Regions from separate parts of the Homo sapiens genome. Here regions 1, 2 and 4 are each linked to region 3. Evidence: promoter capture Hi-C in 16 types of primary human blood cells and fetal thymus (Javierre and others, 2016). All regions are on one chromosome and are shown on one strand. Each heading gives the region's core, a stretch centred on a gene start or on the middle of the fragment in contact. The rest is flanking DNA. Distances are from core to core; before and after follow the strand shown. Region 1 overlaps WDR76 (WD repeat domain 76). Region 2 overlaps AFG2B (AAA ATPase AFG2B). Region 3 holds the start of CTDSPL2 (CTD small phosphatase like 2). Region 4 overlaps FRMD5 (FERM domain containing 5).

Evidence for each region. Contacts are between HindIII fragments. The CHiCAGO score rates a contact against its expected background, and 5 or more counts as called.
Region 1: a contact is called between a fragment that was not itself captured here and the fragment with the promoter of CTDSPL2 in region 3, in 2 of 17 cell types (erythroblasts and endothelial precursors). The highest score is 6.3, in erythroblasts.
Region 2: a contact is called between a fragment that was not itself captured here and the fragment with the promoter of CTDSPL2 in region 3, in 1 of 17 cell types (neutrophils). The highest score is 5.7, in neutrophils.
Region 4: a contact is called between a fragment that was not itself captured here and the fragment with the promoter of CTDSPL2 in region 3, in 1 of 17 cell types (endothelial precursors). The highest score is 5.6, in endothelial precursors.

The regions. Positions count from the first base shown.
Region 1 is chr15:43,841,842-43,846,240 of GRCh38, forward strand. It overlaps WDR76 (WD repeat domain 76), which reads left to right. Exons shown (of 13, transcript NM_024908.4): 6 at 574-675; 7 at 787-830; 8 at 2,060-2,213. Among named protein-coding and RNA genes, the nearest start is that of WDR76, 17 kb to the left of the region's middle. The HindIII fragment of the contact is 2,674 bases long and covers 1,003-3,676 here.
Region 2 is chr15:45,406,964-45,411,760 of GRCh38, forward strand. It overlaps AFG2B (AAA ATPase AFG2B), which reads left to right. Exons shown (of 8, transcript NM_024063.3): 3 at 3,409-3,567. Among named protein-coding and RNA genes, the nearest start is that of AFG2B, 7.0 kb to the left of the region's middle. The HindIII fragment of the contact is 2,095 bases long and covers 1,355-3,449 here.
Region 3 is chr15:44,425,405-44,429,676 of GRCh38, forward strand. CTDSPL2 (CTD small phosphatase like 2) reads left to right here and starts at 2,225. Exons shown (of 13, transcript NM_016396.3): 1 at 2,225-2,368. LOC124903479 (a long non-coding RNA gene) reads left to right here. Exons shown (of 3, transcript XR_007064605.1): 2 at 363-569; 3 at 890-913. RefSeq lists enhancers at 1,127-1,734, 1,389-1,618, 1,735-2,342, 1,899-2,278, 2,343-2,949. The HindIII fragment of the contact is 7,080 bases long and covers 1-4,272 here.
Region 4 is chr15:43,875,913-43,880,689 of GRCh38, forward strand. The region is part of intron 13 of FRMD5 (FERM domain containing 5); the gene reads right to left. It also overlaps the pseudogene PIN4P1. Among named protein-coding and RNA genes, the nearest start is that of WDR76, 51 kb to the left of the region's middle. RefSeq lists an enhancer at 3,137-4,777. The HindIII fragment of the contact is 2,504 bases long and covers 339-2,842 here.

The sequences.
Region 1 (4,399 bases), core at 1,090-3,589, 580 kb before region 3:
TTAAGTTTCTGGGGTTTTTTTGTTTTTGTTTTTTGTTTTTTTTTGAGATGGAGTCTTGCCCTGTCACCCAGGCTGGAGTGCAATAGTGCAGTCTTGGCTCACTGCAACCTCCAACACCTGGGTTCACACGATTCTCCTGCCTCAGCCTCCTGAGCTGCTGGGATTACAGGTGCCTGCCACCACGCCCAGCAAATTTTTGTATTTTTAGTAGAGATGGGATTTCACCATATTGGCCAGGCTGGTCTCGAACTCCTGACCTTGTGATCCGCCTGCCTCGGCCTGCCAAAGTGCTGGGATTACAGTCTCTAAGTTTCAATCCACTGTCTTTAAAATGTGATACCTCATTTGCTAGGTTGTTGAGAGGATTAAATGAGATAATACATGTTATTATTACTTTATAGGGTACCTGGCATTCATTTATTGAACAATTATTTTGAATGTCCATGATATGCCACCATTACTGTTGATGTTGAAAGTGAAGTTGTGGGGAAAACAGACAAATACCCTTGCCCTCCTTGTGTTTATATTCTAGGGCAGGGAGCCCAACAAATAACTTTTTATTTTTTATAACAGCCTTTGTTACCTCCTGGGCCTTTAGAAATGACTTCTGAAAATCAAGAAGACAACAATGAACGATTTAAAGGATTTCTGCACACATGGGCAGGAATGAGCAAGGTATCACTTGGGAAGGCCAATAGCCTTTAGAATCATCTGTTAAGGAAATATATATATATGTAAAAATATATACATACTAACTTAGTTCTTTCATCTCTCCCAATGTTTCAGCCAAGTAGTAAGAACACTGAGAAGGGATTATCTAGCATTAAAAGGTAAGTTGAAATTCCTTGTGTTTCTTTTATATTTTTTGAGATGTTTGAGTTATAAAGACTATACGCCATTTTAGGGAATTTTGAAAGTGAGATGAAATGTTTCCACCCTAACAACTGTTGTTTTTGTGTATTTCCTCACAAGTGTTGCCATATACAATACCACTAGGATATAAGCTTCATATACAATACCACTAGGATATAAGCAAGAATTCTATTTCAATAACCAGAACAGTGCCTGGCACATAATATATGTTCAGTGTTGAATAAATGAGTGAATCCACATACATTTTTACTATATGTTGTAATGTATATACAATTTTGCATTACACTTTTTTCTTTTTCTTTTTTTTTTTTTTTTTTTTTGTTTTTTGAGACAAGGTCTCCCTCTATCGCTTAGGCTGCAGTGCAGTGGCACTATCTTGGCTCATTGCAACCTTCGCTTCCTGGGCTCAAATGATCCTCCCACCTCAGCCTCCCAAGTAGCTTGGACTACAGGCGTGCACCATCACATCTCACTAATTTTTGTATTTGTAGAGATGAGATTTTGCTGTGTTGCCCAGGTTGGTCTTGAATACCTGGGCTCAAGTGAGCTGTCTGCCTTGGACTCCCAAAGTGCTGGGATTACAGGTGTGAGCCAGTGTGCCTGGCCTGCGTTATGTTTTTTTTCATTTGCGGTTGCATGTTACTAGAGTCTTTAAAATTATTGAATAATTATAAAATATTCCATTGAGTAGAAGGAGTTCACTTCTCCTCCTACCTGCTTGGTATTTGCGGTTGTTTTCCATTTAGCTTTGTGTGTTTGTGTATGTGTTTGTTGAAGTATATGGATATGATAGTGGATTATTTCTTTAGGTTAGATTTCCAGAAGTGAGATTAATGCATCAAATATTGTGAACATTTTTATGGCTTTTAGTACACATTGCCGAATTGTTGCTCAAAGGTCTTTTTTTTTCTTCTGAACATTTTATATGAACTTACTCTTCCACTAGCAATATGTGTGAGTATGTGTATTTAACTGCAGCCTACCAGCTTTTGGTGTTATTAAAATTATCAAGGGTAATTTAAAAAGTGAAAGAATATTGCTTAATTTGATTTCCTTGGTTACCAGGAGATTGAATAGTTCCCATATTTATTTGCTAATTGTGATTTTTCTTTTTGAATAATCTTTTACTTATTTTGACTATTGAGATTGGTTTTACTTACAAAATTTAACTTTGTAATTTTCTTAGCTACAAAGCCAATTTAAATGGCATGGTCATTAGTGAAGATACCGTTTACAAAGTTACCACAGGCCCAATATTCTCTATGGCTCTCCATCCATCAGAAACTAGAACTTTGGTAGCAGTTGGGGCCAAATTTGGGCAAGTTGGACTTTGTGATTTGGTAAGTTATTAAATTTCTTGAATATATTATAGTTTGACTAAAGCAAATAGGCTGGAAGAGAATAGGCTAGAGCCATGTGTTTATAAATGTTGCGTGAGACTTACAATTTTGGGCTTTATGATGCTTTATGATTCCAAATTTTAGAAATCTGGAAGAATTTAAATTTGCTTTATAGAACTTTAATATTTTTAGCTTGAATATCATTAACCATCTGGTCATAAATTAACTGCCAGAAAACTTTGTTACACTTTGTGTGATCTTTTCACATATACATTTAAAGTGGCCGGGTGCGGTGGGTCACGCCTGTAATGCCAGCACTTTGAGAGGCTGAGGCGGTCGGATCACCTGAGGTCAGGAGTTCGAGACCAGCCTGGCCAACATGGTGAAACCCCGTCTGTAGTAAAAAAATACAAAAATTAGCTGGGCGTGGTGGTAGGTGCCTGTAATCCCAGCTACTCAGGAGGCTGAGGCAGGAGAATTGCTTGAACCCAGGAGACGGAGGTTGGAGTGAGTCGACACTGTGCCATCCAGCCTGGGTGATAGAGTAAGACTCCGTCTCAAAAAAAAAAAAAGGGCTGGGAGCGGTGGCTCACGCCTGTAATCCCAGCACTTTGGGAGGCCGAGGCGGGTGGATCACGAAGTCAGGAGATCGAGACCGTCCTGGCTAACACAGTGAAACCGCGTCTCTACTAAAAAACCCCATCGCTACTAAAAATGGAACAAATTAGCTAGGCGTGGTGGCAGGTGCCTGTAGTCCCAGCTACTCGGGAGGCTGAAGCAGGAGAATGGCGTGAACCTGGGAGGGGGAGCTTGCAGTGAGCCGAGATCGCACCACTGCACTCCAGCCTGGGCGACAGAGCGAGACTCTGTGTAAAAAAAAAAAAAAAAAAAAAAAAAAAGATCAAAGTTTAGTTTTCTTTTTTTGGAGAGGGAGTCTTGCTCTGTCGCCCAGGCTGGAGTGCAGTGGTGTGATCTCGGCTCACTGCAAGCTCCGCCTCTCAGGTTCACGCCATTCTCTTGCCTCAACCTCCCGAGTAGCTGGGACTACAGGCGCCTGCCACCATGCCTGGCTAATTTTTTCTATTTTTAGTAGAGGTGGGGTTTCCCCATGGTCTTGATCTCCTGACCTCGTGATCTGCCTGCCTTGGCCTCCCAAAGTGCTGGGATTACAGGCATGAGCCACGGCGCCCAGCCCGAAGTTTAGTTTTCTAGTTGTGTTTAAAATATGGTCTGCTATGGTCTGAATGTTTTTGTCTTCCCCAAAATTCATATGTTGAAATACTAATCCCTATGGTATTAGGAGGTAGGACCTTTGGGAGGTGATTAGGTCATGAATAAGATTAGTGCCCTTATAAAAGAAACCCAGGAGAGACCACTGTCCCTTCTACCATATGAGGACACAGCTAGAAGGCACCAACTATGAACCAGAAAGTAGGCCCTTACCAGACACTGAATGAACTGGAAGCTTGATCTTGGTCTTCCTAGTCACCAGGACTGTGAGAAATAAAATGCTGCTGTTGATAAGCCACTCAGTTTATGGTATGTTGTTTTAGCATCCCAAATGGACTAAGAAACAGTTTCTAAGCTGTATCAAAATATCTTCCCAGGGACCTGCTTTGGAATGATTTTAGTTATCTTTGATGAGTCAGAAATAGATACTGAATTCCATTCATTGTGCATATAATTCTGCATGAAATACTGTCTGTTATTACAAAATTGAGAAAAGTCAAGTTAATGTTCTCTGAATTTATTTTCTTATTGGGGAAGAAGACCAAAGACATGAAAAATGCCATAAGGACAATTAATGAAGGTGAAGAAATAGTGGTGACTTGAAGTTGGTTGGGGTTTATAAACAAAATTTGCAAGTTTGAAGACAGAAACCAAGTTCTTATTTTGGGATCATAGATTCTCCCTTATTTTGATAAGATGTGAGTGGGGATAGGAGGTGATAGGATTTAGCAAAGAAAACTGAAGCAAAAAAGTGGGAAGAAGATCAGAATAGTATGTTTTGGAAGCCAAGAGATGAGTTTCAAGGATGGGAGGTTGACAGAGCCTTTTGCAGAGAAGTTAAAAGAATGGAGAAAAGGCCATTGATTTTGAAAATAGGGTACCATGTAGTGAGTTGAGAGAATAGCTTTGACAATGAGGTAAGTAAGGAACAAAGGCTTTAGGAGATTAAGGAAGTA
Region 2 (4,797 bases), core at 1,152-3,651, 980 kb after region 3:
GGAGACAATAAGTAAGCAGGAGATGGGAAGGGAGATTTACATTCAGGATTTCCTCTGCTTTGAAGTTCCAGGTTTGACCATAAGCACCTCTCACTTAGGTGGACCAGTCAGCTGCTGTCGTCCCAGGGTGGAGCCCACTGCTACTTCAGGAGGGGCCTGCTCAGGTGTAGTTACCACAGGTGATGGCTGAGTTCAGAAACAACCCAGGGGAAGTGGAAGGAAGAAAGGCAAAAAGCATGAAGGGACAGACAACTGGGAAGGTACTGGCTCCATCTTTTATTCTTTCCCCCACCAGCTGAGGGGCTGCTGCTACCTCTCCCTGTACCAGGGCAGATAAGGGATACCTTACACTTTGTTAAACTTTTTGTGAAGTATTCCTATTAAAGGATTAGAACTGTAGTTTAACACTCAGACACACACAGAGGGGAAAGAATGTATAAGCCCAAAGAATCAAGTAAAATAATGTGTACACACATGATCTTGAACTATAAATGAGATTTTCAAATATTAGTTCGTGTTACCTAAAGATTAGTTAATATTTGGACATCAGACACCTAACATACTATCAGCCAGTTAAAAAGGCTTTTTTTTAAGTATATAATAGGGTTATTCATGAGAAATGAAGATAGAAAATTATAAAGAACTGCCTACCTGAAATCTCACTTTCCAGAGATGACAATTGTTAACACTTTTGGGAGAATACTTTACAGAATAGCTCTATACATACAGATTCACTTAACATCTGTTTACAAATAAGAAAAGACAGTTTGTTTTTGAAAACGGGAATTTGTGGACAACTAGATGTTTAGAATTGGATATAAGAGGGCAAATACTTTAATAAATACAGTACAGATATTTTTAATAAAATTTTCAGGACTTTTTAACTAACAAAAAAAAATGTGTTTCACTAGAATGATCAAGGAGAATGTAAAGAGTCTCCAAAATATAACCTGAGAGTGAAGACGACTTCTCTAGGCATAACATAAACCTTAATAGCCAAAAAAGAGATTATTTGCTGAGTTGACCATTTGGGGGTGGCAAAACAATACTATAAAGTAGTCAGACTAGGAAAAATACTTTTAGTCCAATTTCCTTGATAGGGAATGAACAAATCTTACAAATCAGTAAGAAAAGACCAACAGTCCAAGAGAAAATGGGTAATGGGGTATGAACAGGTAGTTGACAATAAAAGGAATGACAATAAACATGAAAGATGTTCAACCTTGATTTCTTCTAAAATTATTGTCTTTATTTTGAAATAATTAAAACTTATAGGAAAGTTGCAAGATAGTTACAAAGAACTTCCACTAAACCCTTTATCCAAATTCACCAATTTTTAACTTTTTGCCAAATAAGCTTTATCATTCTCTTTTGCTCTCCTTGCTCCCTCTCCTCTTCTCTTTCTCTCTCTCTCTGTCATCTCCATATATATGTATTTATATGCACATAGTATTTATTTATTTTGGACTATTTGAGAGAATGGGTTGCATATATCATGACACTTTATCCCTTAACATTTTAATGTCTATTTCCTAAGAACAGAAATGTTCCCATATGTCACCACAGTATGGTGATGTATAGTGTTGTGTCCTTAGAGCCTCACATGTAGAGGCACAGAGTGTACATTGGTTCCTCATTGGTGATGCTAACTTTTATCAACTAGTTCAGGCAGTGCGCAGTTTCTCCACTGTGGAACTGCTATTTTTCCCTTTGCCACTAATGAGAAATCTGTGGGGAGACACTTTGAGATATCCTGCTCCTCATCAAACTTTCAGGCTGGGCACAGTGGCTTACACCTGTAGTCCCAGCTGCTCAGGAGGCTGAGATAGAATGATCACTTGAGCCCAGGTGTTCGAGGCTCAATGAGCTGTTGCCTCAATGCCACTGCACTCCAGCCTGGGCAGCAGAGCAAGACCCTGTCTCATAAATGAATAAACTTTTACTCCCCTCAACATAGCATCCAATTCTTGCTCATAACAGCCTTTACTATCATGATTGCAAGACGGGCGATTTTTTTAATTCCAATATTCCCTCTACCTCATTTTGAATTGAAGAAATTTAGTTAACACAGTAATGAATGAGTACTGGTTCTTCCTGTCATATTGGCAGACATTTAAGAGTTTGGAAATGGGCCACGTGCGGTGGCTCACACCTATAATCCCAGCACTTTGGGAGGCTGAGATGGGTGGGTCAGTTGAGGTCAGGAGTTCAAGACCAGCCTGGCCAACATGGGGAAACCCCGTCTCTGCTAAAAATACAAAAATTAGTCAGGTGTGGTGGCTCATGCCTATAAATCCCAGCTACTCGGTAGGCTGAGGCACGAGAATCATTTGAACCCAGGAGGCGGAGGCTGCAGGGAGCCAAGATCACAGCACTGCACTCCAACCTGGGTGACAGAGTGAGACCCCGCCAAAAAAAAAAAAAAAAAGAGTTTGATAATGTCTGTACTGGAGAGGTGTGGAGAGAACACAGCTTCATATTATCGGAGAAGAATAAATTGTTGCAGCTTCCTTAGAGGACAATTTGGTAATAGCTGTCAAAATTGTATATGTGTGTACTTGTAAACCCAGTAATTCTACTTTGAGGAAATTATTACATAAAATACTTGAACATGAGTTTGAACATGGTGGCTCATGCCTGTAATCCCAGCACTTTGGGAGGCTGAGGTGGGAGGATCGCTCGAGCCCATGAGTTCCAGACCAGCCTGGGCAACATAGGGAGACCGCATCTCTACAAAAAAAAAATATATATATTTTTTTAATTAGCCAGGCTGGTGGCACATACCTGTAGTTCTAGCTACTCCGGAGGGTGAGGTGCAAGGATTACTTGAGCCTGGGAGACTGCAGTGAGCTATGATAACATCACTGCATTCCAGCCTGGGTAACAGAGTGAGACCCTGTCTCAAAATAAACAAATACTTGAACATGAGCACAAAGACTTTTTCAGTTGCAGCTTTGTTTTTAATATCTAAAGACTGGGGATGACCTAACGTTTGTCAGAAAGGTGTAGTTGGGGTAAATTCAGTAGTGTATTATGGAATTGTCAAAAAGAATGACGTAGAACTGTGTTAGTTGACATGAAAAGCTCTCTAAGATAGGTGAAAGAAGAAAAGTACAGGCTGATATAGTATGGTTCCATTTGTGTATCTGTTTAAAAGGATATATGTATGCTTACTAGCATAACATACTGGAAAAATACACAAACTCTTGACATCTTTCGGGGAAGAATTACTGGCAGGAATTGGCAGGGAGACATTTAATTCTTTGTACTATGTATATAAATTGTTTTTATAATGATAACAAAATAACTTTACAAATCCAAAAGAAGATTTTAAAAACAAATTGTGCTATAAAAAAAGACCAACCTAATTTTTGGTTTGATTTTGCTTTTTTGGGTGTATTTCTTCAGAACCAGGACAATCCTGTGATTGATGAAATAGACTTCCTTGAAGCTTTTAAAAATATTCAGCCCTCATCGTTTCGAAGCGTCATTGGATTAATGGATATCAAGCCTGTTGACTGGGAGGAGATTGGTGGCCTTGAAGATGTAAAACTGAAGTTAAAACAGGTAAGACAGATAATCTACTTAATCCAGTAGGATATTACAGATTAACATTCTGTGCATTTATGATGACAACATACTGCGCTGAAACTGCTCTTGCTCCTATCACTAATGTGATCCTAACATCTAAATCCAATGATTGCTTTTCAGTCCTTATTTAATTGGACTTCTGTGGATGTCTAAACTGGTTTTTATAATTTCCCACCTCGACCCTCTCTTTGTTTTTGCTTTAAAGAGTTTATAACCTAAGGCTGGGTGTGGTGGCTTATGTCTATAATCCCAGCACTTTGGGAGGCCAAGGGAGGAGGATTGCTTGAGTTCAGGAGTTCAAAACCAGCCTGGGCAACATAGCAAGCCCTTGTCGCTATTTAAAAAAAAATAAGTTTATAATCTAAGGCTGGGCGCAGTGGCTCATACCTATAATCTCAGCATTTTAGGAGGTTGAGGTGGGTGGATCACCTGAGGTCAGGAGTTCAAGACCAGCCTGGCCAACATGGTGAAACCCCGTCTCTACTAAAAATACAAAAATTAGCTGGGCATGCTGGCAGGTGCCCATAATCCCAGCTACTCGGAAGGCTGAGGCAGGAGAATCACTTGAACCCGGGAGGCAGAGGTTGCAGTGAGCCAAGATCCCACCACTGCACGACAGCCTGGGCAACAGAGAAACCGTGTCCGGGGGGAAAAAAGTGTATAACCTATAGTCTTAGCACTTTAGAAGGCCGAGACAGGAGGATCTCTTGAGGCCAAGAGTTCAAGACCAGACTGGGCAACAAAGTAAGACTCCCCATCTCTATTTAAAAAAATTATTTTGACACATGTTTGCTCTGTCACCCAGGCTGGAGTATTGTGTCACAAACACAGCTCACTGCACCCTTGAACTCCTGGGCTCAAGCAGTCCTTCTGCCTCAGTGCCCCACCAAGTAGCTGGGACTACAGGTGCATACCACCACGCCTGGCTAATTTTTAAATTTTTTGTAGAGATAGAGTCCCACTGTGCTACTCAAGCTGGCCTTGAACTCCTGGGCTTAAACAGTCCTCCAACTCGGCCTCCTAAAATGGTGGGATTATAGTCATGAGCCACCATGCCTGGCCTACAAAAAATTTTTTTAAATTAGCCAGGTGTGGTAGCACGTGCTTATGGTCCTAGCTACTCAGGAGGATCACTTGAGGCTTGACCCCAGGACACCCAGGAGATCGAGGCTGCAGTGAGCTATGATTGCACCACTGCACTGCAGC
Region 3 (4,272 bases), core at 975-3,474:
TTAAGGATGCAGTGAGTTATGATCATGCCACTGCACTCAAGCCAGGGGTACAGAGGAAGTCCTTGTCTCTAAACAAAAAGCAAAACAAAACTTTAGGGGCTGTGTGCAGTAGCTCAGGCCCGTAATCCCAGCACTTTGGGAGGCCAAGGCAGGAAGATGGCTTGAACCATGGATTTTGAGGTTGCAATGAGCTTTAATTACTTCAGCCTGGGGAATGGAGTGAGACCCTGTCTCTAAAAATAAATAAATAAATAAAATAAACTTTAGTAATAATGGGGTAACTGTTTAGTTGGTATTTTACTGCTTTCCATGATACACTCTGGATAAACTAATTATTTGTTGGATTCCATTGAACTTTTCAGGAATCTATTTTTGTGTGTGTGGACTGTTACTATTAATAGTTCTGTGCTGTGTATACCACCAGCTCCCAATAAATGTCGCATTCAGAGCATTTTTGCACTAGGAAGATTTAGGGTGCAAATGAACTCTGACAGAAGAATCTGTAGTATACAAGGTTTTCAGAAGACAACCCACCTGCTCCATACTTCGAAATAATGAGATTCACAACGGTATGTTATTTCTGCTTACTTCTCAGCCTCTCTTGCCATCTTCCCCCTGCCCTCCCATCCTCTTTTCTTAGCGCACAGAACTACTTCTCCAATGGCTCAACACAGTCTCATCTTTGGACTTTTCCGTCTGTTGTTTCCTTTACCCAGACACTCTTCCCCTGCAACACACACTCCTCCTTTTTGTCTCAGATGTTATCTTACGAAACCTTCCCAGACCCCCTCGCCGGCACTCTCATGTGTTTTACAACGCCTATCATGCCATCCTTGTATTCGCTTTATCAGTTTTTAAATTCTGTTTACTTGGGTGTCTTCTTCAATAGATTATGATCTTTGGCCGGGCGCGGTGGCTCACGCCTGTAATACCAGCACTTTGGGAGGCCGAAGCGGGCGGATCACGAGGTCAGGAGTACGAGACCAGCCTGACCAACGTGGTGAAACCCCGTCTCTACTAAAAATACAAAAATTAGCCGGTCGTGGTGGCGCGCGCCTGTAATCCCAGCTTCTCGGGGGGCTGAGGCAGAAGAATCGCTTGAACCCGGGAGGTGGAGGTTTGAGCCGAGATCGCGCCACTGCACTCCATCCTGGGCGACAGAGTGAAGACTCCGTCTCGAAAAAAAAAAAAAATCATTACCTTTGGGGAAGGCAGTATCCGTGTCTGCCTGGCTCACTGTTTTACCCGTCGCACCTAGTTATTTTTTCAATAAATATTTCTTGATTGAATAAGGAGAGTGGCTTGGAGTTTCAGTGAAAAATGTTCTTCCAAACACTAGGCTTGGTTTTCCGATACCCCACTAGAACTGGATTCTCTGGACTGATACATTTTCACTCTGTGGAGCTGACCGTCCTTTGACCTAGGGTCGCAGGTGGGAGCCCACTGGCCTGAAAGATCCGAGTTTTCAACCTGCAGAATCACCGCCAACATAGGGTTGAGTCGAAGGGCATGAATATTTATGATCCAAAAGCGACTGCTACGCCCTCTAGGCAATGAGCTGGAAAGGGAACCTTCAAGGGCCACCGAAATCCCAGGAAAGGCGCCAGATTCGCTTTCTCCCGGCCTCAGGCAGCTCTCCCTACGAACTACCTCCTCCAGCGCGCCAAGCCGTTAGTCCCGCCTTATCCCCTCAGCTCCACCTACCCAGCGCGCCCACAGTTACTAAACCCTAGCCGCCAGGGTGCACTACGCGTTCCTAAGCCCCGCCTCCGGGGCAAGGGCGCGCTCCCCCTCCCAGCTCTGCCCAAGCAGTTCCGTTAGGAGCGGGAGGAAAAACCGTCCTTCGGGTCCCCGCCTCTCCACTCCTAACGCTTTACTCCCTACTCCCCCTGCGACCACTACACAGCCGGCTACGGAGGCCCCTAATGTACAAATATCCCCCAGGCCCTTGCTCATCCTGATAGGTTTTGTCCTTTCTTAATCGACCCAGTACTAAGGCCTTGTGTTCAGTTTTTCTCCAGGATTCAGACTAGAGAGTTTCTTCCGGCGTAAGGAACTTCAACGCTCTTCACGGAAGTAAAAGTGTTTTTTTGGTTGTTGTTGCCGTTGTGGCTGCCCGCATTCCTTCCCTCCCACCTCGCGGAATTGTGGCGGGAGGGGGAGGAGGAAGTCAGGGCGCCTGCGCGGAGAGGCCGCTTTCCATCCGGGTCCCTGTCCGTGCGGTGCAGCAGGTCGGTAGGCGGGAAATGGCGACTGGCTGAAGGAGCTGGTTCTGTTGCTGCTGCGGGGTAAGCGGGAAAGACACCACACATTGCGCAGTCGGGACCATCGCCGGAGCCTGAGGACACTTCTCTGTCGTCACAGTTAGGTAATCCCCTTCGTCCAGACGCCGCCGCTGCTTCCAATCTCAGTCCTCCTCCTCTTCCAGGGCCGTCTGCCGGGATCTCCTCCCCTTCTAAACCTGGTCCTCCAGCGGCTCTGGCGCCTTGGTAGGCATGCACTCTTTGGCGCCTCGTACGTCCACTGTGCGGAGCCGCTCCTGTCTGGACTTTCCCCTGGGAACAGAAAGGGAGCTCACTTCCCGCCAGCTTCACCTCTTAGGTTGCGGCCTGCGTTGTGATTTCTGGGGTTAGATTTCACTTTGCTACCCACCCCCACTCCGATCTCAAGTTCCTAGTCCCCAACCTCTGGGTAATTAAGTTAGAAGTTTAGCTTTTTTTAACCTTTTTGGCCCACCTCATGTTTTCAGCATTTCATTCTTTGGAGTAGGGTGCTTTTAGGGGGGCGTTGCTCTTATCTCAGTTCTTATAAACACCTTTTCAGAATCTGGAAGAAGGGATTTGACTAAGTTCTGTTTATCTTTTGTACTGTTAAAATCTCGAGTTGACATTGTTACTTTTTCAAATCGGGAGTGGTAGTAAAGAACAGTCCATGTGGAAGGCGTCTGGTTTCCACAGTGGTCAGTTAAAGAGTGAACCTTATTATCCTTAATATTCTCTGCTTTCTTTGGATTTTAAATGTCTGTATGGGTGTTTACTTTTGCATTCTTGACCAGAGTTCTGTGGTAAATAATTGCATAAGTAAATCTTGTTTATTTACTTCTCACCCTAGTGGTGGCTGGATGTGTGAATGATGTTAAACACTTCAGCGTACCTTAGGGAAACCTAAAGAGATCTAAGAGCTCGTAAACTTACCTGAGATCCTGAAATGAAACGTACTCAGTAGATGTTCCTCCGAGGCAGGGATTTATCTTCCTAATGCTGGTAACGCAGTACCAAGATGAATTTCTTCAGTGGGTATACAAATTAGTGACTTGAAATGATGGATTTATCTGTGTAATTTTCAAATTGTAGATTGCTTTGTCTCCCCATTCTTCGCCCAGTTTTAAATTTTCGTTCCTGGTCCATTTTTTATTCTTAGAAAAGGGAAATGGCGTGTTAAAGCTAGTTTTACTATATTTCTTTACTTTTTCTTTCCTTTTTTTTAAATTACATTGCAGACCAATTGTTCATAAAGAGAAGTAATAAGGAGGCTGTTGGTGTTTTCGGAATTTATTAATCATGTTGAATTTGGGATCTTTGTAGGTTTTTTTGTTTTCACTAATCAAATTAAAATTTTAAAAACTGTTCACATTGAATATCAGTTGATATTTATAACTCAGGTTTTCAGTTCTGGATAGGTCCAGTTTAGAGAATTTCACTATTGTTTGCACGATGTTATGGTTAATTTTCAATAATAAACAGGAACACACAAACATTATTATAATCCTCATTTGGTAGACTTTGCCCAAGGTCATAAAGAAAGTCAAGGCAAAAGGTAGCTCTTATGTGAAGGAGTTTTTTAGGATTAAGTTGAGCTTCATACTTTCCTAAGGCGAATAGAATAGTGGAGGTACAGGCACGTTAACTACTTGCCGAGTCAGTTTATTTAAAAAATGGAGCCAAATATGCAACTTAAAGGGATCTTAAATCATTGGTCTAGTGTGTAGGTTTTGTCTGTATTTTAATGACCTTTTTGGGTAGTTAATAGCGTTAATGTTTTTAATAAAAATTAGTTTGCAGCTAGCTGAGTGAGCATTGTAGACCTTGTTTTCAAGAGTTCTCCTAAATTGTTTAGTACTACGTGCATTCAGTACTTGCACTCTTTTAATGCTTTCTCAGAGTTGAAAGAACGTATAAGCTGGCTGGGTGGGGTGGCTCACGCCTGTAATCCCAGCACTTTGGGAGGCCAAGGCAGGCGGATCACAAGATCAGGAGTTCGAGAACAGCCTGG
Region 4 (4,777 bases), core at 341-2,840, 550 kb before region 3:
AACACAGGCTTATCCATCACACTTATAGGCAAGGCAAATGCTGCTTCTTGAAATGGTCCCACCATGGACCCTCTGGTCATCCAACCCAAGACGCCCCCTTGCCTGGCTTTATCTTCACTATATTGTGTGGCCACTTCATTGAATCTCATCCCAGACTTTAACTTTTCCATGGCTTCCATGATTTTGCCATGTTTTTCCCATAGAATGTGTCTGACCTTTACTGCATTGCCACCACCTTTGGGACCTTGAGCCTTCTTGTCAGCACTGTCACTCCCAGAGGCTGCACCCCCTTTCCCCGCTTTTCCAGAACCACTTTTTCCTTTGGGCGGCATCTTGGAAGCTTGTTGTTGAACTCTGAACTCTGGGCCTGGTTTTTACCCCAGTTTGAAAGAATCTGAATTCCAAACTACCCCTGATGCAGAGCTGGGACCACGGTTTGAGTCTCAAGTCTGCCTGTTGGGTGGAGGGCTTTAAGAGGCAGGAATGGGCCAGACACGATGGCTCCCATCTGTAATCCCAGCACTTTGGGAGGCCAAGGCAGGTGGATCACTTGAGCCAAAGGGTTCAAGACCAGGCTGGGCAACATAGACACTGTAACTATAAAATTTTTAATAAAAGAGAGGTAGGAATGGGGAGAAGGGGAATATGTCATGCCTAACTGGGTTTCATCAAATACCGAATATCCTTGTAAAAACCCAGCATACAGCATCTTGAGCTTATAAGGTCAATATTTTTGGATTTCTGCAGCTGCTCTCAGTCTCTTCAGCCTCCGTTCTAGCTGTTCTGACTTTGTGGAATGATGGGGTAGAAACTCTCTCTGCTCTTCTTGAGGGGGCATGGGAGTAGTCCCTGGCCAGCTCCCTCTCTTTTCCTCTGAGAAGGAGCTGGGTCTAGAATAGGCTGAAAAGCTCCCCTATCTTTAGACACTTCAGAGCACAAAACAGTTTGAGAAGATCTTGTTGCGGGGGTGGATTTCTCTTACATTTGGTAGGAGGAAGGGGTATTCTATCCCCTAAAACTACCCATTATCTCTTCTCTCTTCCCAAGGTTCTCACAGGACTCAAGCCCTGGCAGGGAAAACAGGAGCTGGTTACACTCTCAACTGAACAGCAGCCACCCAGGCCAGAGGCTTTGGGCATATAGTGAGTGAGCGCGGCCCCCATCACAGTGCTCCCAAGGAAATGGCTTCTTGTTTTAGGCTCAATGTCTGCATTTTCCACTCCTGGCCATCTTGGTGATGCTGGTGTGGTTCTCTCTGCCTTTGTGACCTATGACAAGAAAAGCCAGTCCCCTTCTGTTGCCCTGAAATAGTCCCTGACAATCCCAGACTGAACCAGATTCCCAGCTCAGTAAAGGTTTTACCTAAGTCAGGTTGATTAGGGAGTTTTTTGGTTCAGGGCTAGCTCCAGAAGCCCAAAGGGTCTCTTTTTTCCCCTTCTTCCAGGACATGAAGCAGTCCAAAGGTCTCTCTTAAAAAGGTGTTAGTAACCTTTCAGAAGCAGTGTGTCCCATCTTCCTTGGCTCCCTCATGGCTTGGCCGTTTGCACCCAGGCAGCCTGCCTGACCAGCCTTGTGGAGCCTGTCTTGGCACAGGCACAGTTAAGGATTCTCCAGAGGAATGAGCCCTGGAATCTGGGTTATGAATGAGTAGGACAATGGGGAGAGAGGGTGGGGGCAAAGGCAGGGCACCTGCCATCTAGTTACGCTCCCCATTGCGTCACGGCTCATATATTTGCCACAGCTCTCAATCTCTGCTTTCAGAAGCTCCTCATAGTCTTAGCTGTATTTTTTGTCCCTGTGCTAAAATCTTAAATTTGTATAATGCTTTCATCTTTTTAAAGCACTTTGATTTTATCTTTCAGTAACTCCACAAGGTAGTGAGGGCAAGAGGTTATCTGAAGTCATGTGGTTGGCAGTTAATGGCAAAACCAAGGATAGAATCCAAGCCGCTTTCTAGTTCATGATCCTGCTGATCATATCTATTAAGTCCTCATGTTGTCAACAGGTTCCTGGAAACCATGACTTTAAGCCAAATGATGTTACAGCAGGTCCTCCAATGTTTTCTTCAGCATCATTTTGTTATAATTTTTTTAAAGTTCTTTAGTTTTTTGAGACAGTCTTACTCCATTGCCTAGACTGGAGTGCAGTGGTACAATCACGGCTCACTGCAGCCTCGACCTCCCAGGCTCAGGTGATCCTCCCACCTCAGCCTCCTGAGTAGCTGGGACTACAGGCATGTGCCACCACGCCTAGCTAATTTTCGTATTTTTTGTAGAGACAGGTTTTTGTGCTGGGATTACAGATGTGAGCCACCACGCCCAGCCCCATTTTGTTATAATGTTGATGAGAAAAAAAAAAGTTTAATTGTACATCATTTTGCTTAAAGTTGCAGTTTCTAAAGACCCTGTCAACGCTGTTAAGTGATGACTTAACTGTAGTCGGATTCCATGGAATGGAACCATGGGCCAGGACGGATTAAATCAACAGCCAGCATCTACCTTAGATTTAGGTCTTAATTGCTCGAGAAACTGTTTTGAAATAACCTGAAATTAAGAGTCTCTGTCCCTTGTTCTAGAGCTCTTGCTGTTCCTCTGATCTCTCTTCCACAGTATTCCTCCCTGATGTCCCCATTTGCACATGCAGCTTGAGGAATATGTACCTTGGGACAGGTTATGGGTCACTGATAAAGCAGAAACCTTAAGGCCCTGGTTGCAGCATATTGCTTGCTTGGCTCCTTTCCCAGGCAGTCCTCAGCCCCATTGCATAGGGCGCCTGCCACCCTTTCAAAGGCCTGCCCCTTCATGAAGACAGCTCTGACTGCAGGATCTTTCAAAGTATGAAAAGCTTAGCTTAACCTACGATTACACCCCTCAGCTTGTGGGGAAGGAGAGGCAGATGCTGTGACATCAGAAGAGGAAAATGTCAGAGGACCACCTGGAGCCACATCATACTGGGAGCTGTTGGTGCTCTCATTAAACAAGATAATGGATAGATAGGCATTTCTTTTTTTTTTTCTTTTCTTTTTTTTTTTTTTTTTTGAGATGGAATCTCACTCCATCTCATTGCCCAGGCTGGAGTGCAATGGTGCAATCTCGGCTCACTGCAGCCTCCGACCCCCGGGTTCAAGTGATTCTCCCACCTCAGCCCTGCGAGTAGCTGGGATTACAGGCGCCCACCACCATGCCCGGCTAATTTTTGTATTTTTAGTAGAGATGGGGTTTCGCCATGTTGGCCAGGCTGGTCTGAGCTCCTGACCTCAAGTGATCTGCCCATCTCAGCCTCCCAAAGTGCTGGGATTACAGGCATGAGCCACCACATCCAATTAGATGTGCATTTCTAGTAGAATGCCTGACAAATACAGTTGCTCAGTAAATATCAGTTGGTCTCCTCCCTTAACAGAAGATCTCACCTGTAAGGTGACCCTCCCACATCAGGTTAGTCCTATATTAGAAACTGTTTTCACTGCTGTAAAAGCCACCACCTGTCCTGCCATTTCATCGAACCTGTTATTTTGGGATAGATGGGATGGGTGCCGTGGGAAGGATCTGCGCTAACTGGCACAGCAAAACAGGAGAGCCTTTTTTACCTTGGAAATGCTCCAGCTGATTCCCTTGCCCGGGGGTCACAGCAGTCAGGACCCTACCCTGGAGCCGGGGCCCCATCCTCAGGATGCGCACACTTAGGGGCCGAAAGCAGTGATTAGTCAGCCGGAGCTGGACCCGGACTCTGGTGTGAATCTTAATCAGACTCTTCCCCATGGTGGCCCAGGAAGGCAAATACTTCTTCAGTGGAAACCAGCTGATCTCTTCAGAGAAACCAGCCAGGCAGGGAGAGATACAGAGAGGCAAAGATGGAAAGCCAACTAGGAACAAAGGATTTCTGCAGATCCCACATCATAGCAGCCCCTTGGCAGTGCCTCGCGTGTTGCAGGGAGAAGGTCACCTCCCCAAGCTTCACATCAGGCTGAACTGCAGGGAAGGAGCAGCTCTGAGAGGCCACCGTTATCAGGGGACTGGATTTAGTCAGAAGCACTTAGAGCCATAAAAAGTAATGCTTCCTTGGCCTGCAGCTCTTTCCCTGAGGCCTGGATAAGGGCTCCAACCTCTCAGAGGGCAAGGGACAGAGGGGGCAGAGAACAATCCCAGAGGGTAAGGGGAATCAAGACCGTCCCAGAAAATCCAGGATGTAAAGTGACAAGGCCATTGGCCTTTATCCAGGCCATATATAGTCCAGGCCTGCCCTGGTGCCAGCCAAGTTGCATGGTCAGCCTAGCTTTGGGGCTGGGTGGCTCTGAAGTGGGAGGAGGTAGTCTCTGTGATACTAAATGGGCCAAATGGACTATAGAAAAGAAAGTCTTTGGTGGAGCATGAACCAATTTAAATGCCTCTAAATTCCTTGGGGTTTTTGTTGGTTGCGCCCTTCTTCTGAGGCCCTCATCGCATCCCTCGCAGCCCCTCCCTCCCTGGTTGGGGTGGGCAGTTAGTTAGGGTCAGCAGTGCCTGTCAGGACCTTTAAAGGCAAGCCCTCCTCTTGAAAGACGTTGCACCTGAACTCTCGCCTCCTGGAAACTAACCCATTCTTTACTTCCACAGGCTTGGTAGCCCCTGTACTGATAAAGCCATTTAATTGCTACAATCTTTTATTTATTTCCACATCCAAACCTGATGTCCATCTCCCTCTCCTCACCCTGAGCCTGTGAGGTTCATTTGGGCCAGGTCAGTTTTACCTGCGCTGTCCTGCATCTAATGGGTCCTGGGCTGGGGGCCATGACCAGGGC